Regions from separate parts of the Homo sapiens genome. Here region 2 is linked to region 1. Evidence: promoter capture Hi-C in 16 types of primary human blood cells and fetal thymus (Javierre and others, 2016). All regions are on one chromosome and are shown on one strand. Each heading gives the region's core, a stretch centred on a gene start or on the middle of the fragment in contact. The rest is flanking DNA. Distances are from core to core; before and after follow the strand shown.

What was found. Contacts are between HindIII fragments. The CHiCAGO score rates a contact against its expected background, and 5 or more counts as called.
Region 2: a fragment that was not itself captured here is called in contact with the fragment with the promoter of SMCHD1 in region 1 in 2 of 17 cell types (naive CD8 T cells and M0 macrophages); the score reaches 7.8 in naive CD8 T cells.

What each region holds. Positions count from the first base shown.
Region 1 is chr18:2,652,653-2,657,648 of GRCh38, reverse strand. SMCHD1 (structural maintenance of chromosomes flexible hinge domain containing 1) reads right to left here and starts at 1,923. Exons shown (of 48, transcript NM_015295.3): 1 at 1,388-1,923. The coding sequence starts at 1,573. It also overlaps the pseudogene CBX3P2. RefSeq lists silencers at 1,221-1,400, 1,631-2,080 and an enhancer at 3,115-3,744. The HindIII fragment of the contact is 3,448 bases long and covers 1-2,298 here.
Region 2 is chr18:711,469-716,717 of GRCh38, reverse strand. ENOSF1 (enolase superfamily member 1) reads left to right here and starts at 4,088. Exons shown (of 16, transcript NM_017512.7): 1 at 4,088-4,214. The coding sequence starts at 4,131. RefSeq lists silencers at 795-1,089, 3,844-4,163 and an enhancer at 3,313-3,892. The HindIII fragment of the contact is 4,938 bases long and covers 963-5,249 here.

The DNA.
Region 1 (4,996 bases), core at 674-3,173:
TGGAGTGGGAAGGAGGAGGAAGGCTGAAAAGACATAACCTCAGGTGCTAAGAGTAGTCATATAGTAGTTTTACAGCGAGTAAAAGATTTACTTGTTTCCCCCCTCTGGTTCCATATTTTCTTTAATGTACTGATATTTTTACTATAAACACAATAAACGTAAAAAGTTTCCCTTTTGTAGAATGGTTCTGAATAGAAAGCATTCAACAAAAAAGATGAGCATTCATTCACTTTTCAAACACAACGGGAATCTACTACGTTCAGGCACAGAATTAACTTGAGGGGATAGGTTTTTGTCTTCATTCATTTATCCATTCTAATCTGGGCATTTACAATGTCGCAGGCACAGTTCTAGACGCTGGGACTACAGCTGTGAACAAAAGAAAGTCCTTACTTCTCCAATCGTTTTCATTCTACGGATCACGATTTCAATTATTTCAGCAACCATACAGTTATATGGTCTAGAACATTTCTAAACCTATCAGCCTCACGACAAAACACGGCTTCAAAGTTCTTTTTTTCCCTTGGACGCTAAGTGTTCTTAACAGCTTAAAAAGGGACCTCATATGGTTAATTCAGAGCATGACAATATTCCTTCTTCAAAGCTCAGGCAATGCCACCACCTCATATCTATAAAGTACATCACAGTTTAAAGCGGATTTCCCTCCACGTTCATTTTCAAAGCGAACCAATACACGGGGTAGGTACGTTTTCTGGTGCTCCACAGCCACCCATACCAACCTTTGACTTGGTTTGGAAATTCCCAAGGGTTAGGGCTCAGACAGGCAGAAGGCCAGCTCTACCTGCAGAGCTGACCTGGACAAGTGTCTCCGTGCGGAAGGATCCCCCCCGCCGCCCCGCCCCAGAAGGACCTGCAACCTCGACAGGGCAACCCGGGGACACCCCGCATCATCTAATGAACTTGGGGGAGATGACTCCGGGCATTTCACAACTTCCCACCGTCGCAACACTCACAACAGAGCCCCTGGGCGTTAACTCCCTTCTCTCGTTTTAAAAAAGTTACAAAGTAAAAACAGACACCACCAACGGCTTTCCCTAGACTGCAGGGCCGCAACCGGGCTAAGCTCGCCCAGGGCCAACAAACGCTGAGCTCTCCACCCGGGCCGGCAAGGCCTCCCGTAAAAGGAGCGGAGGCAGAGGGAGGGCCACGGGGGAGCCGGCCCTGCACTTCGAGGCCCGGGCCAGGGCCCGCCCGAGGCGTCCGGCCACCAGGTCACGGACATGGCGGGCACACGGGAGAGGGAAGCCAAGGCCGCAGGACCGGGACCGGGTGACAGGTTTATTGCCCTCAGTGAGCAAGTTGAGTTTCTCATCACCCTCCCGCCCCCAAGTCTACACGCGCATCCCTTCCTCGCCCCTTCGCGTACCTGACACACACACGCGCGAAATCCCGCGTAGTCCGAGCGCTCCCCGACCTGCAGAGGCCGGTCCCCGAGCTCGGACTCCTTTTCGCGCCGATCAAACAAGTACACCGTCCTGTGGCCGACGCCTCCGCCATCCTCCTCAGTCCCCACAGAGGCCCCACCAGGCCCGCCGCCGTCCGCCGCTGCCATATTGGGGAAAAGGAGAAAAGACAGCGACGCCTGCCGCCGCCGGGCTCAGGGCTGAGGTGCGCGCTCCGCGCGGCGCCTTCAGCTCCAGCTCCCGGGGCGGCTCGAGGCCTCGGCCCGGCGCGCTGCAGCTCCTCGTCAGCGGCGGCGGCCGAGCAGCGGCAGGCGCGAGGATCACCCGGGAACCGATTCAAACGCGCTCCTGCCCGTGCACCACGTCACTTCCGCGGCCCGCCACTCCTGAGGAGAAGGGGACGCGCGGCGCGCTCCTCACCGGGCCCGGGCCCAGCGCCTATCGCCGCCCACGCGAGCCTCACGGTGCGACCCGCGACCAGCGCCGCCGCCGGGACTGTGGCGCAGGAGGAAGAGCGGTGGCGGGTGGCGGGCGGCGGGCGACAGCGAGGGGCGGGGCGAATCCAGCAGGCCGCGCGGGCAGGGGCGGGGCTTCGCCGCGCGCGCGCCCGGGGCCCGCCCCCTCGGCCCTCGCGAAGTTGGAAGGAGGCTGAGTCTTTCGCGGCTGCCTGCGCCCTGCGGGTAGTCCTCAGAGGCCGAGGCGGGAGAGCAGGGCTCGGGGGCAGCGGGGGAATCTCCCGAAGAGCTGTGTTCTCTCTGTGGAAAGGGCCCCGCTGCCTTCCCGCCTCTCCAGGATCCCGACTGAGCTTGTAGGTGCCGCGCCGGCTGACTGAGCCCTCTCTGGCTGGGTCGCGTGGACGCGGCGGCGGGAAGCTTCAGGCCGGCGGTACTCGCCGGGCGCAGAGTCCACCAAAGCGAGCACGTGGGTCCCTCTGCCGAGAAAATAGGCGCTACGAGAGCCGGCGCCCCTTTTTCCTCCTCATTTCTTAGTAGTACTGGGTGGGCTCCAGCGTGGGCCCCCGAGGCAAAGCGGGTCCGTGAGAACGTCAGAAGGGCGCTCTGTGACGTCACAGCGTCCCCGCCCCCCGCACCCTCTGGGGGCCCTGGAGCGCCGACGGCATTCGGGGTACGGGGGTGACTCCAGCGCCCTAGTTTTAACGCTGCCTGCGCTTCGCGGTCTCCCACGTGCGTGTAAATTCTGAAAGAACCCACGCCACAGTTACTAGGGTTAAATTAGATGTTCGCAAAATTCTTAAGGCCTAATACGTTTTCAATCAAAGCCTTTAATCGTCGTTACCGGGCAGCGTTTCATTAACTATCCTCATCGTGGGCAGGTAGTGCCCTAACTCAACAAATAAAATGCCATTGTTAGAGGACTAGGTTTACTCTCCAGTTCTTAGAAATCGTGAATACTGTATACTTGAGAGTGGTATGTAAATTCAGAAACCCAAAGGTAGCAGATAGAGGGGTTTTTCAAATCTCAGAATATAAGCCTGGATAATAGTGCGTTTTCTGTTTTACTAGGTTTGCTAAAACCTTATATGGACAGACTTACAAAGTTAGTGTTATGTTAGAAACCTAGATTTGCTTGTGGATGTCAAGACGTTTCAAGATCGTGGGGAATGTGTGTATAAATTGACTACACATATACTAGAGGTAGACACCAACTAGAACGAAATTGTGAAGGCGTGTTTGGGGAACATACATTGTTTGGCTGGAAGTGAGGAGAACTGAGCGGTAGATGGTGGAAGATAAAATTGGAAAGACATAAACTGTGGCCAAATGCCGTTCATGTTCCTTAAGGTGGAGGTGGAGGAAAAGAAAACAAAAAAGTAACCCCCGATTCTAATGGAATTTCTTTGAAGTCTGATGTTTTATTTACCTTTCAAATTCATGCGAATGTCTCATTCTATTCCTTTATATAGTGGTATTTGAGTTAAATGACTCAAAGAAAAACACAAATTGTTTTTCTAATTCTTAGTTAATGGGTAAGATGAATTGCCTCTCTACTTCAGCAAATTGAGATTAGAGCTGGAGATTCGTCATCAGGGCAATTTCTCATTTCTTTGTAATACCAGATTATACAAGCACACCTCTTTCATGTCTTTAGAAGAGATTTCAGGATCATCTCTAAGAGATTTTTTTTTTAATGGTGCCAGAGAAGTGTACTGCAGTATTATGGGCAGCTCTTGATGGGAACATTGATGTCTTACCTTGTTGAGAGATCGAGTCTGAATCAGTTTCTTAATGGCAGTATGGCATCACTTTTGTTCTCAGAATATCAAACAATTTTTTCATCAAAGAAAGATGACGAGTTTGTTCTTTATTTAATTGTCATCACAAGTAAATAAAAGCGTTTGAAATGACCCACTTCCTTAATGAGTTCTCTTCAATTGACTCTTAGTTTTTGTTAATTAGCTATCTTACTACAGAGTAAAATATTTAAGTGGCCTTGTATCAGTTATTTATTGCTACATAACGAACTTCCCCAAAACTTAGTGGCCCCTGAAGAAGTTCCCCATTCCCTTCTTCCTTGCATGTAGCTCAAGTTTGAGTCAGGCAGGATTTGAGATGCCACAGACCCAGACCAGGTGCAGCTCAGAGATGGTGAACGAGATGGTGAACAATAGCTCTTCATGTCTGCAATTAAAAATGGCCTCCAGTAAAACTACAGTCGTCCTTTGGTATCCTTGGGAAATTGGTTTCTGGACCGGGACCCCCATGGATAGGAAAATCCAAGGCTGCTCAAGTCCCTCATATAAAAGAGCGAAGTATTTGCATATAACCTACATACATCCTAGATTACTTATAATACCTAATGCAATATAAATGCTATGTAAATGGTTGTTATACTGTATTGTTTTTCATTTGTATTTTTTTGTTTTATTGTGATTTTAAAATATGTTCTATCCTCGGTTGATAGAATCCAGGAATGCGGAACCCGAGGATACTGAGGGCCACTGTACATTGCAAAAAAATGGGACAAAAGACTTAGTGGAAAGGGTATAAAAGCTGATGAAGCAGAGCCTGAGGATTTTGTGGTGGAAAAAGTACTACACCAAGGTGTGGTGAATGGGAAGGTGGAATATTCCCTGAAGCGGAAAGGATTTACACTTGCTGACAATAATTGAGAACCTGAAGAAAACTTAGATTTTCCTGAGTTCATTGAACTATTTCTTAATCCTCAAAAAAACTGGTAAAGGAAAAGATAGTACAAAAAGAAAATCTTTATCCGAGAGTGAATCTGATGACAGCAAATGAAAGGGATGCTGCTGAAAAACCAGGAGACTTTGCCAGAACTCTTGATCCTAAGCAAAGAATTGGTGCCACAGACTGCAGTGAAGAATTAATGTTTCTAATGGAATGCAAAGACTCAGACGAGGCTGACTTGGTGCTGGCAAAGAGGCAAACGCAAAGGGGCAAACACGAAGTGTCCTCAAATTGCAAATTATTTTTATGAAGAGAGACTAACTTGGCATTCCTGTCCAGAAAATGAAACTCAAAAATTGTTGCACTGCAGTATACTGCCATATAGTGTGTGTGTGTGTAAAACCTAGGTCTTGATTTTCTTAT
Region 2 (5,249 bases), core at 2,182-4,681, 1.9 Mb after region 1:
TTTGGTTGGTTTTTGTAATCTTTACCATTGCTAGAAAGTTAGAAAAGGGTGGCTTCACTTCAGCAGAAATTTTGAAAAATTCGTGGAACCAGAAGAAACCCAATCTAAAAGAAATACAAGAGAACATTTTCGCAGAGTTTTAAGTGCAATTTCAAAGAAAATTCAAACTTAGAATCAAATTCAAAGAGGAGGCAGCACCCCAAAGCAACATTTTTTGTTTTATTGAGGTATAATTTACATACAACAAAGCTCACCATTTTAAGTGTACCACTAGATGAGTTGTTGACAAATGTAGACAGCCATGAAACCACCATGAAACCAGAATCATAGAACATTTCCATCATTTCAGAAAATTCCATTATGCCCTTTTACAGTCAATCTCTTCCATTCACCCCTGACCTCTGTCAACCACTGAGTGTTTTCTGTCACTATAATTGTACATTTCTAGGGCTTTATATAAATGGAATCATATGTAGTCACTGTGTCTGATGTCTTTCGTTTAGCATAATGCTTTTGAGATCTTTTTATGGCTCAGTAATATTCCATTGTGTGGATGTGTACTACATCTTGGTTTTGTCCTTTACCAATTGATGGATGTTTAGGTTGTTACTAGTTTTAGGCTATCACAAATAAAGCTGCTATGAACATTCAAATACAAGTTTTTATTTTAAACATAGGTTTTAAATTCTCTTGGATAATTACCTATGAGTAGGATTACTGAGTTGTATGATACATGAATGCTTAACTTTCTAAGAAACTGATAACCTATTTTCCAAAGAAGCTGTACCCTTTCATACCCCTCCAGCAATGTATGAGAGTTCCAGCTGCTTCACATCCTTGCCAATACTTGGTATTGCCAGTCACTTTAATTGCAGCCATCCTGGTGCGTGTTAGTAGTACATCATTGTGGTTTTAGTGTGCATTTCCCTAATGACTAATAATGTTGAGTCTTTTCATAAGCTTATTTCAAATTCATATGTCTGCTTAGGTGGAATGTCTATTAAAAAGTCTTTTGCCCATTTTTTATATCAAGTTGCCATCTTACTGAGTTGTAATTTTTTCAGTATTCTGCATACAAGTCCTTTTAACAGATATGTTTTGCAAATATTTTTCTTCCAATCTGCAGCTTGCATTTTCATTTCTTTAATGGTTTTCATAAAAGAGAAAACATTTTTAATGTTGATAATTTAATTGGCAATGTTTTTCTTTTATGATTCATGCTTTTAGTGTCCTAAGAAAGTTTGCTTTATCCAAGTACAAAAAGATTTTCTCCTGTGTTTTCTTTAGAAGTTTTGTAATTCTAGCTCTTAAAATTTAGATCTATATTCCACTTCGAGATGATTTTTGTGTATGATATAAGGTAATGATCCAGGATTGTTCTGTTTGTTCTTATGGATATTCAATTGTTCGAGCACCAGTTGTTGGAAAGATTAGCTTACTCGTTGAATTTTCTTGGCCCCTGTTTTTTTTTGTTGTTTTTATTTTGTAGACGGAGTCTCGCTTTGTCGCCCAGCCTGGAGGGCAGTGGCGCGATCTCAGCTCACCGCAACCTCCGCCTCCCGGGTTCAAATGATTCTCCTGCCTCAGCCTCCCGAGTAGCTGGGACTACAGGCGCGTGCTACCACGCCTGGCTAATTTTTTGTATTTTTACTATTTCAAGACCTCTTCTGTTCCATTGATCTACTTGTCTGTCTTTATGTCAATTTCACATTGACTCGATTAGTGTATAGCAAGTCTTAAAACCAAGTAGTTTAAGTTCTTCAGCCTTGTTCTTTTTTAGGATTATTTTGGCTATTCAAATTTCCATATAAATTTTAGAATCAACTTGTCAATTTCTTCAAAAAAATCCTGCTAGTGATTTAGATTAGATTGCATTGAATTTGTAGTTCGATTTGGGAAGAACTGCTATTTTAACAATATTGAGTCTTCCAATCCAAGAATATGAATTTCTCTACATTTCTACATTTCTTTAGATCTTTTTTTCTCAGCAATGTTTTATAGTTCAGTGTGCAAATCTTGCATATTTTTGTTAAACTTGTCCTGTTTTATATCTTCAATGCAATTGTTTTAAGAGATACTGTTTTCTAATTTGTTTCCAATTTTTTATTACTAGCACATCAACTATAGATTTTAAATTGACCTTGTATCCTACAAACTTGCTAAGCTCAATATTAGTTCCAGTAGCTTTTTTCGTTAAGTCCAATGAAGACAGTTTTCAACAAAGATGAATAATCATGTCATCCAAGAATAAACAGGTTTACTTCCTTTTCAATCTGCCTTTTATTTCTTTTCTTATTATATTACCCTAACTAGAACCTGCAGTACTATGTTGAATAGAAGTGGTGGAAGCAGACATCCTTTCCTTGTTCCAAATCTTAAGGAGAAAGCATCAATCATTCACCATAAAGTCAGTTTGTGGCTGTTTCTATCTTCTGAAATAGATTATAGAGAATTGTTGTAATTTCTTCCTTAAATGTTTGGTGTAAAATTCACCAGTGAAACCATGGACCTGGTGCTTTTTGTTTTTGGAAGGCTATTATTTATTCAAGTTATTTAATAGATATAGGCCTATTCAGATTGTCCATTTCTTCTCGTGTGAGTTTTGGCAGATTGTGTCTTTCAAGGAATTGGTTTATTTCATCCAGGTTATCAAATTTGTGGACATAGAATTCATAGTATTCCTTTATTATCATTTTAATGTCCGTCGGATCTGTAGTAATGTTCCTTATTTCACTTTTGATATTAGTTATTTGCGTTCTCTTTTCTTGCCTGGTTAGAGGCTTATTGATTTTATCAATGTTTTCAAAGAACCAGCTTTTGTTTTCATTGATTTTTCTTTGTTGCTTTCCTGTTTTCAATTTCACAGGTTTCTGCTTTAATTTTTATTATTTCTTCTCTTCTGCTTACTTTGGATTTTCTTTTTATTTCTTTTTATTTATTTATTTTTGAGACACAGTCTCACTCTGTCGCCCAGGCTGGAGTGCAGTGGTGCGATCTCGGCTCACTGCAACCTCCGCCTCCTGGGTTGAAGCGATTCTCCTGCCTCAGCCTCCCGAGTAGCTGGGACTGCAGGCGCCCGCCACCACGCCCGGCTAATTTTTTGTATTTTTAGTAGAGACGGGGTTTCACCGTGTTAGCCAGGATGGTCTCGATCTCCTGACTCGCCATCTGCCCGCCTTGGCCTCCCAAACTGCTGGGATTACAGGCGTGAGCCGCCCAGCATCTTTTTTTTTTTTTTTTTTTTTTTGAGTCGGAGTCTTGCTCTGTCGCCCGGGCTGCAGTGCAGTGGCGCGATCTCAGTTCACTGCAAGCTCCACCTCCCGGGTTCAGGCAGTTCTGCCTCAGCCTCCCGAGTAGCCGGGACTACGGGCGCGCACCACCACGCCCTGCTAATTTTTGTTTTTAGTAGAGGCGGGATTTCGCCGTATTGGCCAGGCTGATTTCAAACGCCTGACCTCAGGTGATCCGCCCGCCTCGGCCTCCCGAAGTGCTGGGATTACAGGCTGAGGCACGGTACGGGGACCTCATCTGCATCAGTACGGGTGTAATCAATGATGACCTGCCTCTTAATTTATCAGGTGGCAAACTGAGGCTGTGGGCACTGAAAGAGACCTAGCATTTTCTAGGGCACCGCTCTCCTGGGTACGCTGGCGACAACCAGCGGCCTCGGCTTGGGAGCTGAGCCACTGGCCGGAATCTGCCGCTGAGCGAATGCACTCGCTCAGACCCGACTTCTCCCTCTAGGGCGCGGCTCCCGGGCAGGTCCCTTCACGAGTCTTCCATCCGAGCAGAGCAGGGTCCCGCGGAGGCGCCGACCGGGCGCGAGGCCTCCTGCCTGCCCAGGTTCCCCGGCGACCCTGAGCGAACCCTCTCGGGGTCAGCTCCGTCTAGGCTGAGAAGGGAACGGCGGAAGGCGGAGTGCGCCCCCGGGAGCCCGGAGCTGGGACTGCAGCTCCCATGGGGCCAAGTTCACGGGGTGCGGCCGCGCGGCCAATGAGCGCCCTCTATGCCCTGACGGTGCCCCGCCTCGCGGCGCTGCCGCGCTCCCGCCCTCCCGCCCTCCCGCCGCGCGCTCGGGATCCCGACCAGTCCTGACCGCACGGGGGCCGCGGCCACGGGGCGCAGGGGCCATGGTGCGCGGCAGGATCTCCCGGCTCTCGGTCCGGGACGTGCGCTTCCCCACGTCGCTTGGGGGCCACGGCGCGGACGCCATGGTAAGCGCGGACGCCATGGTAAGCGCGGACGCCATGGTAAGCGCGGACGCCATGGTAAGCGCGGACGCCATGGTAAGCGCGGACGCCATGGTAAGCGCGGACGCCATGGTAAGCGCGGACGCCATGGTAAGCGCGGACGCCATGGTACGCGCGGCTTGCGGCCCGGGTCCCTCCCGCCCCGCCGACTGCAGCTCTGCGGGCCCCGGGCAGCTTCCCGACTTCGAACCCATTGCTTCTGTAAAGTGGGAGGCGCGCCTGGGGGAGACACTCGCTTTTCATGCCTTGGAGCAATTGTATAAGTATCCAGAAACTTTCCACTCTCCTGGGTTTTTTCTTTGCTGGAGTTTAGAATATCCTGGTTTTACTTTTACGACTCACATTTTGCTGGAAATGGTAGAATGCATAATAGGCAATAGCAGCAAAATGATTTTGTTGGGTTCCCGCCAGTGGAAACCCTAGAGCACAGCGCTCGCTGGCTTCCTCTGTACCCTGAACGCGACGGGGTTGGCGCTGAGGGAGAACGGGAAGCCCGGGGCTGGGAGTTTTGAGTGGTGATCCCGCTTCCACAACTTGCTGTGTGACTTGGAGAAGTTCCAGACCTCTCTGGGTCTCTTGGACCCGTCTGTGTAATGAAGGTGTCACAGTCGGGTTGAGAAACCAAGCGCGTGCTAACTGCGTCACATGAGAGGGCGCTCTCGTGAAATTACCCGCAAACACGCTTAGAAAGGACTGATGCAAATGTCAGTTCGTCTTAAGAGATGTAATAAAGTAAGGGCAGGAACTCTGACTCCTACCTAAATATTGAAGGTCTTTTTTGCTTACTGAGGGTGTTAGAATGTCAGGCCTTCCCTCCCCTGCCCCCGTCTAGAGCGGTGTTTCCCAAATACAGTGGGTTCTGTGCAGGGTTTTCAGGGAGCCTGTTCCCCACTGGGTCCTCACTGCCCCTCGTAGTCCACTGATGAGATTGGCCGCGCTAGAAAAGCAGAGTTGTATGGGTATGTAGTGAATGTGTGAAAGTATGCTGGGAAGTGAGGA